7 separate regions of the Homo sapiens genome follow, and all the other regions are linked to region 1. The links are contacts of gene promoters, found by promoter capture Hi-C in blood cells and fetal thymus (Javierre and others, 2016). All regions are on one chromosome and are shown on one strand. Each heading gives the region's core, a stretch centred on a gene start or on the middle of the fragment in contact. The rest is flanking DNA. Distances are from core to core; before and after follow the strand shown. Region 1 holds the start of UBP1 (upstream binding protein 1). Region 2 overlaps GLB1 (galactosidase beta 1). Region 3 overlaps PDCD6IP (programmed cell death 6 interacting protein). Region 4 overlaps GLB1 (galactosidase beta 1). Region 5 overlaps GLB1 (galactosidase beta 1). Region 6 has its middle 22 kb from the start of PDCD6IP-DT. Region 7 has its middle 32 kb from the start of CLASP2.

Region 1 (2,906 bases), core at 229-2,728:
TGTGTAATCTTTACACATTTTCACCTGAATTACCTCATCTCTAAAGTATGGCTTTATCAAATGAAATGTTTGCAAAAATGTTGTGTAAAGAGAAAAACATTCTCCAAGTTAATTTGTGGTTTTTTTTTTTGGAGACCGAGTGTTGCTCTGTCTTCTCCCGGGTTCAAGCCTTACTCCCGCCTCAGCCTCCTGAGTAGCTGGGATTACATGGGCGCGCCACCACATCCAGCTAATTTTTGTTATTTTTGGTAGAGACGGGGTTTCACCATGTTGGCCGGGATGGTCTCCTGACCTCAACTAATTCACCCGCCTCGGCCTCCCGAAGTGCTGGGATTACAGGCGTGAGCCTGTAAGTTAGTATCTAAATCACACAGGCGTTGAGACTATTTTTTTCTGGCTCAGTGCCACTGCTTTATTAGGCTGACATTTTAATCTATGTATTTTTGCACTTAAACTGGCAAGTTGGGGCGGGGCGCTCAGCATTTGGGTCTTATTCTTAGGCAGTAAGTTCGATGCAGGGCGAAGCCCGGGCCTTGACGTTCTCTTCAGCAAGGATTCCGCCCGTCAAGCGCCAGCAGCCGCTCCTAAGGAACTCTGATCCGCACACTGGCTCTGTAAGTCAGCCTCTGGCTCCTGCTTTCTATTTCATCTCTTCCGGTAAAAAGATTTCTGTCTTTTGGCCGCAGTGGCGCGTGCCCACGCTAGGTCGCTGAGGAAGACCCTTCGGGCCTTCTGAGCAGCGTAGCTGTTACTGTGGCACGTCCTAATGGTTCGGTCCAACTTCAGGAGACCGCCTGCCCTTAGGATGACCAACAGCTAGTTCAACTCAGGATAGCCAAGCTGCTCTCGGCAATGCAACCAATAGGGGAAGTCTTTCCAGAGCTCTTTCTCAGGAGCGTTGATTGGCTTATTCTCACGCCAATCAAGGTTTTCTGCACAACTGGCTTTTCTGTCACCAGATGGGGTGCAAACCGCTCACTCCCTCGGTAGAGAGGGCATAAAGCAGAGACGACCGGGAAATACCACAGAGGAGCAAATCACCTCCGGAAGTGGCGTTTTGGGTCGCTTTCTACCATGCAGTCCAATGAACTCTTTCTTTTGGCAACAAATTCCGTCTTCGAGCCCGCCCAAGGTGAAGAACATTTTGATTGGTTGTTTAGTCGGGGGACACAGAGACTCACGGGAGCTTCGTCCAAGCCCTTGCAGGTATTGCTCAGTTGGCCTGTCAATCATCTCGCTCGCTAGAAGGGGCGGAAACTGGCAGCCCTTTTGGCACCGCCTCTTCCTGGGCTGCTGTGCGGGGACGCAGCGAGGCCACCCCGGCTGGGAACAGCCGCGTGGGCGGGGCCGCATTGCACTCTCTGGACAGTTCCTGGGCCGCGAGGCGCGGGGAGTGGCCCTAAGCGCGGGGCTGTACGGGGAGGGCCGAGGCGTGGGGCGAACGCCGGGGCGGGGTCGGGGCGGGGCCGGGGGAGGCGGAAGCGGCGCGTGAACCTAAGTCGGAGTCGCGTTGAAGCCAGCGTCCGGCCGGCAGAGCGGCGTCGGCGGGGTTGGCCGGGGCGGTGTGGCGCTAGAGCCTGGGCGGGCCGGGGGCAAGGAGTCAAGGCTTGGGGGCGGGTGACGGGCGGGCGGAGGGCTTGCCCCCGTGTGGTCCTCGGAGCGGCCCGAGGTCCAGCCTCCCAGCGGTCCCGGAGGAGGATGCGACCGGGGGGCCCCGGGCGGGGCGGTCGGCGGCGGCTGCAGCGCTAGCGGCGCGGGGGCTGGGCGGCGGCGCCGGCATGAGGCGCAGGGCCGGTGTCCGCGGGAGGGTGGCGCTGCCGGCGGCCCGGCCGCTCCCGCTGCAATTGCTCGCTGGGCTCGTCGTGCCCTGCCAGTGGGGCCCCCGCAGCTCTCGTCCCGGCCGCCGCTGGTGACCACTCGCCGCCCCTCCGGAGGCTTCACCCGCGCCCTCCCCCAGGACGCGCCAGCGGAGCTCCGGCTCCTTCGCCCTGGACGCGGAGGCCGCGGTGTGCGGGGCGACGGCGAGGCCGGAAGATGGCCTGGGTGCTCAAGATGGACGAGGTGATCGAGTCCGGGCTGGTGCACGACTTCGACGCCAGCCTCTCGGGCATCGGGCAGGAACTGGGCGCCGGCGCTTACAGCATGAGGTACTGGGCTCCCTGGGCGGGGAGAAGCCTCTGTCTCCTTGGGGAAGGCCTGCGCAGCCCTGAGTCTCTGCCAGATGCGGCTGCTCCCAGAGGTGCGCGGGCCTCCTGGGCTGCGGGGTCGGAGTCCTGCCGCGTGGCGGTCGGGGGCCATGGAACCCCAAAGGCCTCTGCTCGCCCTGGTGACGGGCGGGTGGGGGAGGATGGCCCCGCAAGCGTCGGCCTCGGACCGCTCCTGAGTGCTTCATATTTGCTGTAAAACACGCCCAGCTATTAGGATGGCTTGGGTTGGTGGGGGAAGGGGCTTCTTTTCCTTATAAGTGATTTACAAGTCCCATTGGAGCTAGAATACACTGTACGAAAAGGCAGCACTTATATTGGGAGAATACTGTCTAGCGTTTTGGGATCAGTTCCTACTTTGTTGTCCTACATTATGATCTTTTCTGGCTGCAGATTTTAATCACTTGATGTTAGTAAATTATAATTGAAAGAGCAGCGGTGGGAGTAGCACTGTGACTTCGTTTTGTTCTTTTGATTGTCTCAAAGTGAAGTTTCTCATTTTGGAGACTACCCTCTCAGGCTGTTTCCTCTTGAGGGTTTTAAGATGCAGTGATTGCACCACAAATAATTGTTTAGTCTCTGCTGTCTGTACCAGCAGTCATTCATTTTAATATGGAGAGATTGAAACAGATCTGAGCTTAGTCTCCGCCCTTTATCCTTTTTAACTGTTAGGAATTTGGAAACTCTGTATTTTTTTAGTGG
Region 2 (2,906 bases), core at 270-2,769, 390 kb after region 1:
GCGTGAGCCACTGCGCCTGGACAAAATAATTTTTAAGGGAAATAAATGTGAGCATTTAGAAGCCTTACTGTTTTAAACCAGGGTAGTTGGGCAGGCTTCAGTCACAGTCTATAACTGTAGCTTATTTGTTCAAATATTCTACTGTGGTCTCTTTCTTTTAACGTTTTGTTTTGTTGAGGTATAATTCACAAACCATAAAATTGACAATTTTTAAGTATATGATGCAGTGGTATTTACTGTATTCACAAAGTTGTGTAACCATTACCATTATCTAATTCAGAAACATTTTATCACCCCAAAAAGAAACTCCATACCCATTAGCATTCATTCCACACTCTCCCTCCTCTCAGCCCCTGGAAATAATATACTTTCTGTCCCTGTGGGTTTGCCAATTCTGAACATTTCGTATAAGTGAACCACATATATACACCTGTATGACTTCTTTCATTTAGCCCAATGTGTTCAACGCTCATCCACGTTGTTGCACGTACTAGTGCTTCATTCCTTTTTATTGCTGAATAGTATTCCCTTGTGTGGATGTACAGTATTTTATTTATCCATTCATTGGTTGATGGACATTTGGGTTATTTGCACATTTTGGTTATAGTGTTGCTTTGAACATTGATGTACAAGGATTTGTTTGAATTCCTGTTTCAGTTCCTTTGGGTGTATACCAAGAAGTGGAACGGCTGTGTCATATGGTAACTCTATGTTTAGAGTTTCAGGAACTGCCATAGTGTTTCCCAAAAAGGCCACACCACTTTACATTTCTGTATTTTTTTGTGTAGGAAAAATTATGACAAAATTTTTCTGTAACGTCTTTGATTTTTGTTGTTTTTTTGCAAAGACAGATGATGCTGTACTGGCTTTTCGCTAAGCTTCATTTCCCACCTGTCTCTTTATTTGCATTTTTCTCTCTGAATCATGGAGGATGCCCAGCTGTTGAGTTTTGAAGGCTTAGTTTGGGCCTAAATCTCTCAGGATCTGAAATTGGATACTATCAGCTCTTAATGAAGTTTCTCCTTTGAACTGCTATCTTTTTTGCAGGCTGAGATGGGCTAGGAGAAGACATCGCTTACAAGCATTATCAATTTTAATACTATTAGTAGAGCCAAGAAATGAAGATATTGCAAAACTCAAATGTCACTGCATATAAGATAATAGTGTGCCTGGGGCGTGTCTGGGTGGGTGAGGGGAGGGAGAGCATCAGGATGAATAGCTAATGCATGCAGGGCTTAATACCTAGGTGACCAGGCTGGGTGCGGTGGCTCACGCCTGTAATCCCGGCACTTTGGGAGGCTGAGGTGCGTGGATCACGAGGTCAGGAGTTTGAGACCAGCCTGGCCAACATGGTGAAACCTTGTCTCTACTAAAGATACAAAAAATTAGCTGGTTGTGGTGGCGCTCACCTGTAATCCCAGCTACTCGGGAGACTGAGGCAGGAGAATCACTTGAACCCAGGTGGTGGAGGTTGCAGTGAGCTGAGATCGTGCCATTGCACTCCAGCCTGGGTGACAGGGTGAGACTTTGTCTCAAAAATAAAATAAAATAAATACCTAAGTGACCAGTTGATAGGTGTGGCAAACCACCATGGCACACGTTTACCTATGTAACAAACCTACACGTCCTGCACATATATCCCGGAACTTAAATTAAATTAAAAAAAAGGAAAAGATAATAGTGTGCCAAGGTTGGTCACTGATATTTTAGATAATCCCTCTGTGTTCATCTTATGAGAAACAGTTGAGACCTGGTGGGTGCCTTTTTCACTTAGTAGATGGGGATTCCCCCTAGCTGCCATTGATGGGATCGGGACCAATCATCCGATCCAGGAAAAAAGGCATCGTTTTTGGAACTTTATGGTTCATGACACAATTTTTTAAAAATCTTACTGTTATACTTAAAATAACACATTCATCTTAAAAAAAAATTGGACATTATAGAAACTGTCAGAACATAAATGTTGTCCTTAATCCTCTCTCCTGCCCCTCCCTCTGCCATAATCCATAGAATTCCCCTTTCTTCCTCTGTTGCCTTATTTAGCCTGCATATTAGCCTCATCTTAATTAGAGATTATCAGCACCACTTTTCAGATAAGAATAGCTGAATACAAAAAAAAGTCCACACGTTTTCTGTTCAGCTGGCAAGGGGTGAAGCTTGGACTGGAACTCAGGTGGTGGTGAGCCAGAGTCACTGCGCTTTGGATCACCCTTTGCACCCTGGAGCCCCTGAGCCAGCCCCCACACCCACCCCACTGTGTTCTGCCAAGCCTCCCTGAAGCTGCTTTTTGCCCTGTCTCTTTGAGGAAGTGAGAGAAGGCCAGTCTGTACTTAGCAGCTGTTCTTCAGGCCAGCTTCCTAGAGGAGAGCAGGGAGAGAAAGGCATCAGGAGTGGGGAGTTCACTGCCCATCCCACCCACAGGAACATGCACCTGCCTGTGCAGGTGTGTGTCTCCTTCCTCCACACCTGTGTGTGTCCACAGCTGTGTGATGGCTGCCTACAGGGTCCAGGCGCTCCTGTACTTCTCACACAATGTGGAATGTTGATGAATGCAAAGTCTCACCATTTCTTTCACCTTCCCACCTCACACCCTCTTAAGTGGCCAGAGGAGGCTTGAATCTGCACCATTTCTCTGCGATGCTGCCCTTTGGTGGTCTAAAAACACCCAAAGTAAGATTCTGCCAGTAGAACTAGAACAAATACTTAGTCTTCCAATCCATCCTTAAACCCACTGGACAGCTTCCCAGCCTGGGCTCCCTCGGCCTGTAAAGTGTGCTTCTAGAGGTCACACTTTCCCAACTCAACCTGGCAACCCCCTCCATGCTGGGCTCTGGCTAAGGACTCAAGGGCAAGTGAGGCACAGTCTCTGCCCCTGAGGTGCAAGCAGTGTAGCATGGAGAGAGACA
Region 3 (2,906 bases), core at 234-2,733, 390 kb before region 1:
TAGCTTCCAAGTCTTTGTAGGTGACTTTCTTCTCTCCATGACAGGACTGAACTAATGGCCCAACAGGATGTAACGGAACACTGTGCAGCTGAACATGAGGTCTTTCAGATGAAAAAAACATGAGAGGAGATCCCAAGTCTCTTTTTAAGAGGAAGGCTGTTAATACCCAAGAATCCTGGGCAAATTTCTACTAGGCTCTTGGTGTATCTTAAATCCCCAGGAATCGTCACATTAATTCCTTATTGATCATTTTCTGAGTAATAAGTACTGTTAATGCACTTATGTGCATTTTTACTTCACCCCCAAGTTGTCTGCAATTTTTTAATGTACAAAGATTCCTGAATATGACTTACAAATCAATAAATTCCCCTACCAAAAAAAATCATGTAACAGATACCATATGATGAAACTAATTCCTTGAACATTTCTGAAGGAAGTAGTTGAAACATATATTTCACTCAATCTTTAAGTTTTCTTTATTAATCATTCCAAATTTACTAGTGATTTGCTTTGTCATTAACAAATGATCATCACTGAATAGTCTTTACAATTGTCACTTCAGAAAGGTTTACATTAAAACATTATACTTCCTGTGATATGTGGTTTAAGATGGTTGCTTTCCTTAGCTGTCCATTAGCAGCCCAATTTTTTATCCCTGTTGGCAAAACTGAATTCTAATCAAAGTATCAGATGAATTTGTTAAGTTTTCTTTTCCTTTTTTCTTTATGTCTGTTTTTGCGCTTTAAGGCTCATCTTTAAGAAAACAGGACAATAATTAAAAGTGTGAATCATCAACATGCTCAAGTATACATGCTTGTACCAAATCACCAATGATTCAGAACTACACAATGCCTTGATTTGATAAAAGTATTGAAAACAGATGGTCAACATTTTCCAGAAAGAGTTCTAGCTTGGAAAAACAAGTTTAGTAAAAGGTAAAGACAAAGGCATCCCCTAAACATAAAAGAATTGTTCATGCATCTTAAATTAAAAAAAAAAAAAAACTATTTCTACTATATACTTCAGATAACTCTATTAAAACTTCAAATTTCTTTATAAGTTTCAACTTGCTTCTTATACACAAAAAAGTCTAAATATTTCACATGCAAAGTAAGCAAGTGTTTATAAAAACAATAACTGACCTTGGGGAGAGTATCTTTGTATTGACACTGTTTGAAAGCATCACCAAAATAATCTGCAGCCTGATTAGCCAATTTAGCTATGATGGCATCTTTCATTTTATCTGGAATACAATATGACCATTATAATTAAAATAAATATGAGCTAATCTGACATGTCTCAGTATAAACACTGAGGTCACAAGTTTGTACACGCATCTGAAAACATCTTTCTTGATGAAATCACATTTTCTGCACAAAATTTAGAACAGACAAAATAGATTAGTGGTTGCCAGCAGTGGGGGAAAGGGGAGTGAGGAGTGACTGCTAATGGGTACATGGCTTCTTTCTGGGATGATGGTAATGTTCTAAAATAAGATAGTGGTAATCAAAACTCTATGAATATACTAAAAATCTTATGTTGTATACTTAGAAAGGGTGAACTTGAGTGTATATAAATTCTATCTCAATATAAGCTGTTATTTTAAAAGAAAAAAGTATTCCAATTCCTATTTCTTCCACATGATGACTTATCTCTTATTTTCAGTTTCAGCCCATATTACATATTCAGCCCATTTTCAATCTCTCATGCTAACTTATATGCCTTATAAGAATTATTCTTATTCCCTCATTCCCAGGGCTAGGGACTGTGCCTGGATGACTCCTTCTTGTCATTTAGGTCTACTTTAAAGAGGACCTCCTGAAAGAAAGCCTTCTTGACTAATGAATCTAAAATTAGCCCAGCTTCCCCTATATCCCTATCCCATAACCATACCACCAGCCACTATCATATAATTCTCTTATTTTTTATAGCAATTATTTCTGAAATCTTATAGCAATTATTTATGAAATTATCCTGTCTACTTAATTCTTGCTTATCATCTCTCCCGTCGCCAAAACCTAAGTTGTTTTCTAACTCCGTTTATCTAGAAACTAGAACAGTGACTGGCACAGAGTAAGTATCCAATAAATATTTGCGAATAAATGTCTGACATGTTAAAAACATACATAAATACTATTCCAGAATGGAGTGTTTAAAGACAATTACTAAAGATCTATTTCATGACTTCAAACACAGCCTACATTCTTAAATGTAAATTTGTGCCACAAATTCAGAAAAGGATAGCTGAAAATTTTCCATAATTCATGTATCAAGTTCAAGAAGGACAGCTCGACATTGAACATATTATATTCTAATCACTTTCTTAATTTAAAAGCCTTATCACTTTTTTTCACATGCAACAAAAAGATAAATTGGAGTTACCTCTTGTGGCTTTTAAAAAAAATACTTCTTGAGCCTGTGCCAGCATAATAAGACTGAGGGTCCCAACAGTATCTGGAGATATGTCCACGGTCGGCTCTCGACTTAAGGCAGATAAAACCGTCTCTTTAATATGTAAAAAGGCACCACTAGCAAACTAAAGGGGGGAAAAAGAATTTCTTTATAGGAACTCAGCAAGACTTAATTTCCTACTGTTACATATAAAAGTCATTTCAAATGTTAACTCAGTGAACAGTTAATATATTTAAATTTTTATATTATGCAAAACCAATCTAAAACATCTGACCTACAGACAATAAGGTTATCTTTCTAAAACTCTATAGCGTAACAAGAGATTTAACAAAGATTAAAAGTAAATTACAAGGAAAAACAAAGTAAACTAATGGAACAATCTGATTAAACTATTTTTAGATATACTTCCTCAAAATTAACATGAGAATAGAGGCGGGGATAAACATTAAAATATTTTTAGTACTGCAATGCTCTTGCTTTGGTCCCAAACAAAT
Region 4 (2,906 bases), core at 150-2,649, 370 kb after region 1:
AACTGGTTAGTATCATAAAGGGCAATGAATGAAAAAGCAACCTTTAGAGTTGTCTTCTCTGTATGACAATCATTTGTTTCTCTCTCAGGCAATAATCTACAAATTAATCTGTAACTTCAAAGTTCTTCCCTTAATCAATAGTAAATAGTAAGTCAAACAAAATATCTCCCCTGGAGAATGAAGGAAGCCTCAGTGGGCCCATTGGACAGTCCTCCATTATAACATGGAAAGGAAATGCAGTCACCCTTTTGCCTTATATCCAAATTCTGGATAATTTTTCTTTTCTTTTCTTTCTTTATTTTGACACAGGGTCTCACTCTGTCATCCAGTTTGGAGTGCAGTGGCACAATCACAGCTCACTGCAGCTTCAACCTCCCTAGCTTAAGCAAACCTCCACCTCAAGCCTCCAGGGTAACTGGGACCACAGGCATACACCCTGGCTAATTTTTTTGTGTTTTTTGTAGAGACGGGGTTTCACCATGTTTTCCAGGCTGGTGTCAAACTCCTGGGCTCAAGCCATCCACCCACCGTGACTTCCCAGAGTGCTGGGATTAGAGGCCTGAGCCACTGTGCCCAGCCTTGGATAATTTTTCTTTCAAAGCGCCTTCTCCCTCTTATCCATGTGTTAGCAATAGTCCTAATGAGGCCCTTTCCCCACGCTTCTTTCTTCTTGACTCTGCCAAGTATCCAGGAAGGGGCTGTGTGTGTCTTGGCAGGTATGTGCCCTGGAACTTTCATGAGCCCTGGCCAGGACAGTACCAGTTTTCTGAGGACCATGATGTGGAATATTTTCTTCGGCTGGCTCATGAGCTGGGACTGCTGGTTATCCTGAGGCCCGGGCCCTACATCTGTGCAGAGTGGGAAATGGTGAGTGTGGCTAGACTGGGCTCTACCTGGTGTGTGTGAGCTGGCAGGCAGCAGCTCTGGGGCAAAGGGAATTAAAGCAGACCTGCATTCCAGAGAGCATGGGGCCTGGGACTGTACCCAGCACAGGTGTCTTTTACCTTGACAAGGTGCCCAGGCAGAGAAACAGGCCAGGGTCAGGGCATGGGCTCTCCTCTTGGTGGTCACTCACATACCTCAGCTTGCTCATCTGTAAGAAGCAGTTAATGGTGTCTTCTCTATCTACGTCACAGGGTATTTGTGAAATTAAATTGAAAAATCTTTATGAAAAGGGCTTTGGTCCTTAAAACATTGCATTCATGCAGAGTGATCTTAATTGTCCTACATTCCAATTTCTAATTTCTCTGCAAGTTATAAACCAAAAAGCCCAGCTCAAATACCCCTTGTCCCTTGAAGCTTTTATTCTTTTCCATAACTACTAATAGTAATTTCTATCTCCTCTGAGCACCCTTCACGGAACAGACATTATAATGGCTTGTTTTCCCTGAACTAGGGAGGATTACCTGCTTGGCTGCTAGAGAAAGAGTCTATTCTTCTCCGCTCCTCCGACCCAGGTAGGTTGTTACAGATGTCTTGAGAAGATTTATAAAAGCTTCAGCCTAGGTGCGGTGGCTCACGCCTGTAATCCTGACACTTTGGGAGGCTGAGGCGGGTGGATTACCTGAGGTTGGGAGTTCGAGACCAGGCTGGCCAAAATGGCAAAACCTCGCCCCTACTAAAAATACAAAAAATTAGCTGGGCATGGTGGTGGGCGCCTGTAATCCCAGCTACTCAGGAGGCTGAGGCAGAAGGATTGCTTGAACCCTGGAGGCGGAAGTTGCAGTGAACCGAGATCGTATCAATGCACTATAGCCTGGGTGACAAAGCGTGACTCTGTCTCAAAACAAACAAACAAACAAAAAAGCTTCAACAATTTATATCAAAAGGGGGAGGTATTTTGAAGGCTGGGGTACCTCTGCACAAATACTTTTGAAAGTTTAGTGAAAGTCTGAGTGTTTATCACTGACCAGTGCATAGCAACAAACTAAACCTCTAGGAAATTAGGCTTTGAACTACGTAACCAGATCTTACTGATAAACTGGTAATTCTTTGAATTGGTATTGAACCCTGTTTGCGGTTGACCAACTGACTTCAGTGCTTTCTCTTCCTATTTACTTAGCATATTCCACAGCCAATGATAGCACCTCGCTAATCAAAATGACAAGTCAGGCATGGTGACTCACACTTGTAATCTCAGCACTTTGGGAGGCCAAAGTGGAGGGATTGCTTGAGCCCAGGAGTTTGATACCAGCCTAGGTAACATAGCGAGACCCTATCTCTATAAAAATTAGCCAGGTGTGCTGGCACATGCCTGTAGTCCGGGAGGCTGAGGTGGGAGGATTGCTTGAGCCTGGGAGGTTGAGACTGCAGTGAGCCATGATTGTACCACTGCACTCCATCCTGGGCAACAGAGAGGGACTTTGTCTCAAAAAAAGAAATAAGGTCGGGCGTAGTGGCTCATGCCTGTAATCCCAGCACTTTGGGAGGCCGAGGTGGGTGGATCACCTGAGGTCAGGAGTTCGAGACCAGCCTGACCAACATGAGGAAACCCTGTCTCTACTAAAAAATACAAAATTAGCTGGGTGTGGTGGTGCATGCCTGTAATCCCAGCTACTCGGGAGGCTGAGGCAGGAGAATTGCTTGAAGCTGGGAGGCAGAGGTTGCAGTGAGCCCAGATTGCGCCATTGCATTCCTGCCTGGGCAACAAGAGCGAAACTCTGTCTCAAAAAAAAAAAAAAAAAGAAATAAAAACAAAATGACAGTTTCTGGGATGGTGTCATTGGATTGCTTGGTAGCTGCAATGCCTTCTATATTCTGGCCACTTTTATAGAGCAATGTGTAAATGATAGTTTTTTTCTTTGTCTTACTCCAGTACCTTCATGTTTTGCACGCTTAGCATATTATTGGTGTTTTCACTGTGGTAACTCATTTAATCTTTATGCCAACTTTATGTGGCATGTACA
Region 5 (2,906 bases), core at 292-2,791, 350 kb after region 1:
TTTTTATAGGGATTGTGTTGAATCTGTGAATCACTTTGGGTAGTATGAACATCTTAACAATATGAACCTTCCACTCCATGAACATAGGATGTTTTTTCCATTTGTTTGTGTCTTCTTTAATTTCTTTTTAACAGTGTTTTGTAGTTTTCAGTGTAGTCTTTCACCTTAGTTAGGCCTATTTCTAAGTATTTTATTCTTTTTGATGCTTTTATATATGGAATTTTTTGAAATTCCATTTAGGATTGTTCATTTTTAGTGTATAGAGAAGCAACTGATTTTGGTATGTTGCTTTTTGTATCCTGCAACTTTGCTGAATTCATTTATTAGTTCTAACAGTTTGTGTGTGTGTGTGTGTGTGTGTGTGTGTGTGTGTGTGTGTGTAGTCTTTAGGGTTTCCTACATCTAAGATTATATCATCTGTGAATCGATCATTTTACTTCTCCTTTCTAATTTGAATGCCTTTTATTTCTTTCTTGCCTAGTTGCTCTGACTAGGACTTCCAAAACTATGTTGAGTAGAAGTGGCAAAAACAGACATCTTGCCTTTTTCCTGATCTTAGAGGAAAAGCTTGCAGTCTTTCACTATTGAATATGATGTTAGCTATGGGCTCTTCACATGTGGGCTTTATGATGTGGAGGTAGTTTTCTTCTATTTTGCATTTGTTGAGTTGTTGGTTTTTTTAATCATGAAAGGGTGTTGAATCTTGTCATGCTTTCTCTGCCTCAATTTAGATTATCATGTGGTTTTTGCCCTTCAATCTGTTAATTTGGTGTATTATATTGATTGATTTTTATATGTTAAACCATTCTTGCATTTTAGGAATAAATCCCACTTGATCATAGTATATAACCCTTTTAATGTACTGTTGAATTCAGTTTGCTAGTATTTTGTTGAGGATTTTTGCATCAATATTCACCAGGAATATTATTGTTCTGTAGTTTTCTTGTAGTGTATTTGTCTGGCTTTGGTATTAGGATAATATTGGTCTCATAGAATAAATTTAGAAATGTTCCTCCTCTTCAACTTTTGTAATAGTTTCAGGAGGATTGGTATTAATTCTTCTTTAAATGTTTGGTAGAATTCTCCAGTGAAGCCATCTGGTTCTAGGTTTTTCTTTGAGTGTGTGTGTGTGTGTGTGTGTGTGTGTGTGTGTGTGTGTGTGTGTGTGTGCGCGCATGCTGAGACATGGTCTTGCTCTGTCGCCGGGGCTGGAGTGCAGAGGCATGATCTTGGGTCACTGCAACCTCCACCTCCCAGGTTCAAGCGATTCTCCTTCCTCAGCCTCCCAAGTAGCCAGGACCACAGGCACGCGCCACCACACCCGGCTAATTTTTGTATTTTTAGTAGAGACGGGGTTTCACCATGTTGGCCAGGCTGGTCTCAAACTCTTGACCTCAAGTGATCTGGCCGCTTCCCCCTCCCAAAGTGCTGGGATTACAGGCGGGAGCCACCGTACCCGGCCTCTTTGAGGTTTTTGATGACTGATTCAATCTTTTTAATAGCTATTGGTCTGTATAGATTTTCTGTTTCTTCATGATTCGGTCTTGGTGGGCTGGGTGTGTCTAGAAATTTATCCATATCTTCTAGGTTATCCAATTTGTTGGCATACAGTTGTTCATGCTATTCTCTTACAATTCTTTATTTCTGTGTCATCAGTTATAATGTCCCCTCTTCATTTCTGATTTATTTATATCTTCTTTTTTTTAAATCTAGTTAAGTTTCTCAATTTTGTTGATTTTTTTTTCAAAAACCAACTGTTTTTTTTTCCTACTATCTTTCTATTCTCTTTTGTTTATTTCTACTCTAATATTTTATTTCCTTTTGCTAGCTTTGGGTTTATTTTTTTCTTCTTATGGAATTGTCTTTTTATAGTTATTTTGTTTGAAACAGGATCTAAAAATAGGTCTATATTTTGCCTGTGGTGTATTTCTTCAGTCTCCTTAAGTCTATAACATCCCCTTTTCCTTATTTTTTATCATTTATTTGTTCAAGTTATCTGGGTCATATGTCTTAAAATTTTATACATTTTAGATTTTGGTGTCATTTAACATGTTCATATTTTCTGTGAGCTCATAGAGCTAAAGCTCTCTAAAGGTTAGAGCTAGAGGCTGGTTGGATTCAGGTTCAACTTTTTCGCTTTTTGGGTAGGAAGAATTCATTGCTTCACTGATATTAAGATTGACCTGTTGGTCCAGGTGTTGTCAGCTTGATCCCTCCACTAGAAAATTCCGCATTATCTTTCCATTTAATGTTTCAGCAGTCATTGGTGATTGTTGCCTAATGTCATTATTTCACTAAAGATTGCAGAATAGTGATTTGTAAAATTCTACCCTTTTTTTCCTGCATTTACTGGCTATGGATCCTTTACAAAGAACTCTCCTCATTAATTATGTGGTTACTCTGAAAAAGCCTATAACAAAGGCAAGACAGATACCAGATTCTTTCACTTGATTCCTTAGTTTATAGCATAATGATCTGATACCACAGCAACCTCCAAGAATGACCAATAAGCTTTTCTTCTGGGTGGGTGAAATATTGTTAGGAATTTAGATATTTAGATATTTTATATATCTGATGTTTTTTAGTTCATCAAAGTGTTACATCTTTTAATACTCAAAATAGCCCATCTTTGGCCAGTTGGGACCTTTTCATTTTTCATTTTTTACTTTTTAGAGTCTTAGTCTTGCTCTGTTGTTCAGGCTGGAGTGCAGTGGTGTGACTGTAACTCACTGCACTCTCAATTTCCTGGGCTTAAGCGATACACTCACTTTGGCCTCCAGATAGCTAGGACTACAGGCATGCACCACCACCACCACTCCTGGCTCTTTTTTTTTTTTTTTGGTAGAGACAGAGTCTCTCTTTGTTGCCCAGGCTGGTCTCAAACTCCTGGCCTCAAGCAGTCCTCA
Region 6 (2,906 bases), core at 277-2,776, 340 kb before region 1:
ACTGTTTGCCTCAGTTTATACATACATAAAATGGGAATAATAATATATACTTTTTGTCAAGGACTAAAATAGCTAATATATATTAAAAGCTTTGAATGTTATGATATTTACAGGTGAATTATAGGACATCTGATATTTGCTTTAAATACTCCAGAAAAAGAATGAGCGGGGGGAATGATAGTGATAGATAAATAGGTATAGCAAAATGTTCAAACGTTGATAAATAGTTGAAAGTGGATAATGCACATATGGAAGCTCTTTTTGCTTTTTTCTTCATTTCTTAAGTGTGAAATTCTCCATAATAAAAAGTTACATAATGCTGGACGTGGTAGCTTATGCCTGTAATCCCAGCATTTTGGGAAGCTGAGGCGGGAAGATGACTCGAGGTCAGGAGTTCGAGACCAGCCAGGCCAACATGGTGAAACCCCCTCTCTACTAAAAATACAAAAAAATTCACCCAGCATGGTGGCACATGCCTGTAATCCCAGCTACTCGAGAGGCTAAGGCGGCAGAATCGCTGGAACCCGGGAAGTGGAGGTTGCAGTGAGCTAAGCTCATGCCGCTGCACTCACCTGAGTGACAGAGCGAGACTCCATCTCAAAAAAAAAAAGTTACATAATTGTTTACATAAAGTGTTTATAATAGTACCTGGAACATTAAATAACTCAATAAATATTAGTTATTACTTGTTTTTTCTTTTGAGACAGAGTCGCACTTTGGCCGGAGTGCAGTGGCGTGATCTTGGCTCACTGCAACCTCCGCCTCCTGGGTTCCAGCGATTCTCCTGCCTCAGCCTCCTGAATAGCTGGGATTACAGGCATGCGCCACCATGCCCAACTAATTTTTTGTATTTTTAGTAGAGATGGGTTTCGCCATTTTGGCCAGGCTGGTCTCAAACTCCTGGCCTCAAGTGATCCGCCCACCTCAGCCTCCCAAAGTGCTAGGATTAGACATGTGAGCCACTGCACCCGGCCAGTTATTACTTTTAAAATGCTGGTTAAACAGATTTTTCTTTATTCAAATGCTATAATTTCTTGCCTACTGGGTCTTCATACAAGCATAATTCTTAAATAAGTTAACTTAGGTCTTTACATTACTCATTTAAAAATTATCAGTGCAGGCCAGGCACGATGACTTACGCCTGTAATCCCAGCACTTTGGGAGGCCGAGGCAGGTGGATCGCGAGGTCAGGAGATCGAGACCATCCTGGCTAACACGGTGAGATCCCGTCTCTACTAAAAAAATACAAAAAATAGCTGAGCGTGGTGGCATGCGCCTGTAGTCCCAGCTACTGGGGAGGCTGAGGCGGGAGAATCGCTTGAACCCGGGAGGCGGAGGTTGCAGTGAGCTGAGATTGCACCACTGCACTCCAGCCTGGGCAACAGAGCGAGACTCCGTCTCAAAAAAAAAAAATCATCAATGCCTTCAGCTATAATCATCTTTCTACCAGTGCCCAAGTAATCTTTGCAACTGCAAAAATGCAGATAAAATTTCCTATCTCTTATATATCATATATCCTATGAACCACAAGAGGGAGCCTATGTTCAGAAACACACAAAAAGTAATTAAACTTTTCATGAAAATTTGTAGGAATTTCAGTTAACCCCTCAACAACACAGAGTTAGAGGCGCTTATTCCTGCACAGTGGAAAATCTGCCTATAACTTTTGACTCCCTAAACTTTTAATGACTAATAGCTTACTATTGACTTACTGATAACATAAATGGTTGATTAAAACATATTTCATATAACATGTATTATATACAGTATATAACACATATACTGTATTCTTACAATAAAGTAAGTTAGAGAAAAGAAAATGTTAGTAAAATTATAAGGAAGAGAAAATATATTTACTATTGATTAACTGGAAGTGGATCATCATAAAGGTCTTTATTCTCCTCATCTTCCACTTTGAGTAGCTGAGAAAGAGGAGAAAGAAGAAGGATTGGTCTTGCTCTTCCTGGGGTGGCAGAAATCCACATATAAGTAGAGCTGTGCAGTTCACATTCATGTTTTCCAAGGGTCAACTATACCATTACCAAGAATGGTAGTCCACTGAGCTATTCCTCTGAACAAACGGAAGTATCAGTCCCCAGATAACAGCATTCTCTACTCCTTCCCCCAGCAGAGAGGCCAAAATTGTTTCTAAAGATTCAAGAAAACTTAAACAGAATCTTCCCAGTGTGAGATGGTGGGGTGGGCTATCTTGGTAGGGAGTGATGTTGCGGTAGGGAAGACTGAGGACATACTTTGGTAGGCCTGGCAGAGTGACCTGTGTTTAGCTTTCTTGCAGTGCTTAGGAAAAGAGCCAGATACTATAGAGCCTGTCTCATGGGAACAAAACTCACAACAATATAAAGGAGCACCTAAAGGCATTTCCTTTTTTTTTTTTCCTTTTTTTTTTTTTTGAGACAGGGTCTCAAAAAAATGTTTTTGACGCTATGTTGTCCAGGTTGGTCTCAAACACCTGGACTTAAGCAATCCTCCTGCCTCAGGCTCCCCAGTAGCTGGCGTTATGGGTACATACCACCTCATTCAGTATCCCTAAAAGCATTTCCGAGCAAAATATAACTACTTGTTCTGGTGCCTCAGATTTTCCTGATTAGGATGATTCATTCCTTTAGAAGATGACCATGCTTAAAATGCACTTAATCTCTGGATGAGAAAGAAGACTACTTTTCACTATCCTGGGGCTATTTTTCAGGTTACCCAGGAAGAGCACTGGGAAAGGAATGAATATCAGGGTCACATGAAAAAGGCAGTTCTGGGAAGGTACCAGGCACCTGGATTGGCAAGCTAGAGGAGCTTAACAGACACTACCAACTTCAGACTGTCCCAGAGTCAGTGTGAAAAAGCACATAATAGATAATTCCAAAGACTGAGATTTGCCTAATTTTTATAAT
Region 7 (2,906 bases), core at 259-2,758, 310 kb before region 1:
AGACAAAATTAGCCAGGTCTGGTGGCACATGCCTGTAATCCCAGCTACTTGGGAGGCTGAGACAGGAGAATCGCTTGAACTGGGAGGCGGGGGTTGCAGTGAGCCGAGATCGTGCCATTGCATTCCAGCCTGGGAAGTAAGGGCAAAACTCTGTCTGGGAAAAAAAAAATTATTATTCATGTGTATAATTAAAATATTTTATTGAAATACAATATGTATACATAAATGTTCACATTTACAAGTAAAATTTTGATTTAAAAAATACATTTAAATAAGTCAAAGGAACCATAAAAAGCTTTACAGATGTGGCCTCGGGCATAGTTCACTGTTGATGGAAATGATGAGCCACTAAAAGTGTTTCTGAAGGTATGATTTCAGAAGCATTGGTTTGTGGTTCTCAAGCACTTTGGAGTTTTCTGAAGAAAAAGCAATAAACAATATTACTCATTCTTTTGAAATAAAAGATTAACTGTGACTTTCTGAGAAAGCTGATTACGTTCTTATAAGTATTACAGTCTTTTTTTTCTACACTGTTCTGAAGGTACATCAGCAATTTCAGTCTTAAAGAAGGATCTGAACTGCTCATTTTGACTAAAGTTCAGTTAACCAGATATAGATTATCTTTGCCAGAGTGTTTTGGAGTTATTTCTATGTGATTGTTTACTTTTGTCAAACTTAATAACATGGCTCTTGGAAGCCAAAAGTTAGTAATGAAAACAGTAACTGAAATACTACTACTAAGAATAATTTAGCTATTCTAGGCATTTGTCAACATCATTTATTTGGGCTAAGCCCAATTTCAAGCCTTTAAAAATGAACAATAAGTGGAAATTTCAGAACTCCAAAGAAACAGTAATTAGTGAAATATTCTGCTGCTCCTTTTTCTCCATGGCAATGCCCCCCAACCTTGCTTGCACACTGGAATCACTTGGGGAGCTTTTAAAGTTCCAGTCCTCAGGCCACACCTCAGAACAGGTAAGTCAGAATCTCTGGAGGTGGGACCCAGGCATTGGTATTGTTAAAACTCCCCAGGTGATTCCAACATGCTGACAAGGTTGAGAACAACTGCTTAACGGAAAATCATAATGAACAACATTCAGGTACTATCACATTGGTTTCAGTCCTTTTTTTTTTTTTTTTTTGAGATGGAGTTTCACTCTTGTTGCCCAGGCTGGAGTGCAGTGGCCCAATCTCAGCTCACTGCATCCTCTGCCTCCCGGGTTCAAGTGATTCTCCTGCCTCAGCCTCCTGAGTAGCTGGGATTACAGGCACCCGCCACCACGCCCAGCTAATTTTTTGTATTTTTAGTAGAGATGGGGTTTCACCATGTTGGGCAGGCTGGTCTCGAACTCCTGACCTCAGGAGATCTGTCTCCCTTGGCCTCCAAAAATGCTGGGATTACAGGCGTGAGCCACCATGCCCGGACGGTTTCAGTCCTTTTCTTAAATAATCCTTAAACCTCTGCTGTGAGATCCTCCAACTTTTTTGAGGGGAAGGCATTAGGGAAGGGGAGATTATCCTCTCAACCAGACACTGGCTTTAAAGGAGATGTTTGCTCCAACCCCCAATATAACCCCGCTTAGGGCAGTAAAGATTGGCAGGGATGACATCCAATCATAACTCCACTACCCACTTGAGCTTAGCTTCATGAGCAAGTTCCTCTCTGCTCTTTAGTTGCATTATTAAATAAAAATTTAGCACATTTTAAAAAATAACAGTTTCATTGGGTTATGATTTATATACCATAAAACTCATCCTAAGTCTGCTGTCTTAAAAAAAGGTCACTCATTGAAAGTGCACAATTCAATGTTTTTTTTAGTATATTCAGAGAGGTGTGCCACCATCATCACTATCTAATTTCAGAACATTTTTGTCGCCACAAAAGAAACCCCACATCCTTTAGCAGTCACTCTCCATTCTCCCTCTAGGGAATTCCCAGCTCATAGGCACCACTAATCTAATTTCTGTCCTGTGGATTTGCCTATTCTGGGTATTTCATATAAATGGAATCATACAATATGCAGTCTTTTATGGTGGCATCTTTCACTTAGTGTATTCTCATGGTTCATGTTGTAGCATGTATCACTGCTCCCTACCTTTTTATGGATGAATAATATTTCATTGTATGAATATACCATATTTTCTCTATTAACTCATCAGTTGATGGACATTTGGGTCGTTTTTCTCTTTGGCTATCATGAATAATACTGTTATGAAATCTGCATACACATTTTTGTCTATTTTTATTTCTCTTGGGTATATACCTAGGAGTAGAATTGCTGAGTCACATAGTAACTCTATACTGAACTTTTTGAGGAACTGCCCAACTATTTGCCACAAATTTTGCAACAGTTTTTTTGAAGTCATGTGCAAGTATTAAATGTTTAATTTGTAACAATAAAATAGAATACAATTTATTTTTCTGAGAATGATGTTCAGAGATTTTTTTTTTTTTTTTGAGATGGAGTCTTACTCGGTCACTGAGGCTGGAGTGCAGTGGCATGATCTCGGCTCACTGCAAGATCCACCTCCTGGGTTCAAGCAATTCTCCTGCCTCAGCCTCCCCAGTAGCTGGGATTACAGGCGCCTGCCACCACACTCAGCTCATTTTTGTATTTTTAGTAGAGACGGAGTTTCACCATCTTGGCCAGGCTGGTCTTGAACTCCTAACCTCGTGATCCACCCACCTCGGCATCCCAAAGTGTTGGGATGACAAGCTTGAGCCACCGCGGCAGGCCGATGTTCAGAGATTTTAATGTGACTTTCTTGAGAAACGTAGTTAACAGCTGTCCTCAAATTTTAACTTTCATCCCTTCCCCATCCCTTTCTGGAGAGGAAAAAACTGTTTTATGGACGGTGAGGGGACTTAAGACTTTTAAAAGTGGATTGAAACAAGGATCTCTTGC

Evidence for each region. Contacts are between HindIII fragments. The CHiCAGO score rates a contact against its expected background, and 5 or more counts as called.
Region 2: a fragment that was not itself captured here is called in contact with the fragment with the promoter of UBP1 in region 1 in 4 of 17 cell types (naive CD4 T cells, naive CD8 T cells, total CD8 T cells and 1 more); the score reaches 5.7 in naive CD4 T cells.
Region 3: a contact is called between a fragment that was not itself captured here and the fragment with the promoter of UBP1 in region 1, in 3 of 17 cell types (erythroblasts, naive CD8 T cells and activated CD4 T cells). The highest score is 6.1, in erythroblasts.
Region 4: a fragment that was not itself captured here is called in contact with the fragment with the promoter of UBP1 in region 1 in 1 of 17 cell types (total B cells); the score reaches 5.1 in total B cells.
Region 5: a contact is called between a fragment that was not itself captured here and the fragment with the promoter of UBP1 in region 1, in 2 of 17 cell types (neutrophils and erythroblasts). The highest score is 14.9, in neutrophils.
Region 6: a contact is called between a fragment that was not itself captured here and the fragment with the promoter of UBP1 in region 1, in 7 of 17 cell types (endothelial precursors, megakaryocytes, total B cells and 4 more). The highest score is 16.7, in endothelial precursors.
Region 7: a contact is called between a fragment that was not itself captured here and the fragment with the promoter of UBP1 in region 1, in 1 of 17 cell types (erythroblasts). The highest score is 5.1, in erythroblasts.

What each region holds. Positions count from the first base shown.
Region 1 is chr3:33,438,977-33,441,882 of GRCh38, reverse strand. UBP1 (upstream binding protein 1) reads left to right here and starts at 1,478. Exons shown (of 16, transcript NM_014517.5): 1 at 1,478-2,147. The coding sequence starts at 2,035. RefSeq lists enhancers at 500-789, 1,000-1,189, 1,521-2,020 and silencers at 1,340-1,499, 1,560-1,669, 1,720-2,039, 2,270-2,319, 2,239-2,473. The HindIII fragment of the contact is 4,671 bases long and covers 1-2,906 here.
Region 2 is chr3:33,048,063-33,050,968 of GRCh38, reverse strand. The region is part of intron 9 of GLB1 (galactosidase beta 1); the gene reads left to right. Among named protein-coding and RNA genes, the nearest start is that of GLB1, 48 kb to the left of the region's middle. The HindIII fragment of the contact is 1,278 bases long and covers 881-2,158 here.
Region 3 is chr3:33,824,817-33,827,722 of GRCh38, reverse strand. It overlaps PDCD6IP (programmed cell death 6 interacting protein), which reads right to left. Exons shown (of 18, transcript NM_013374.6): 5 at 2,383-2,536; 6 at 1,143-1,243. Among named protein-coding and RNA genes, the nearest start is that of PDCD6IP, 28 kb to the right of the region's middle. The HindIII fragment of the contact is 4,464 bases long and covers 1-2,906 here.
Region 4 is chr3:33,066,781-33,069,686 of GRCh38, reverse strand. GLB1 (galactosidase beta 1) reads left to right here. Exons shown (of 16, transcript NM_000404.4): 3 at 717-867; 4 at 1,397-1,457. Among named protein-coding and RNA genes, the nearest start is that of GLB1, 29 kb to the left of the region's middle. The HindIII fragment of the contact is 196 bases long and covers 1,302-1,497 here.
Region 5 is chr3:33,085,844-33,088,749 of GRCh38, reverse strand. All of the region lies in intron 1 of GLB1 (galactosidase beta 1), which reads left to right. Among named protein-coding and RNA genes, the nearest start is that of GLB1, 9.8 kb to the left of the region's middle. The HindIII fragment of the contact is 1,944 bases long and covers 570-2,513 here.
Region 6 is chr3:33,775,286-33,778,191 of GRCh38, reverse strand. No RefSeq gene overlaps it. Among named protein-coding and RNA genes, the nearest start is that of PDCD6IP-DT, 22 kb to the left of the region's middle. The HindIII fragment of the contact is 2,869 bases long and covers 92-2,906 here.
Region 7 is chr3:33,749,050-33,751,955 of GRCh38, reverse strand. No RefSeq gene overlaps it. Among named protein-coding and RNA genes, the nearest start is that of CLASP2, 32 kb to the right of the region's middle. The HindIII fragment of the contact is 2,422 bases long and covers 298-2,719 here.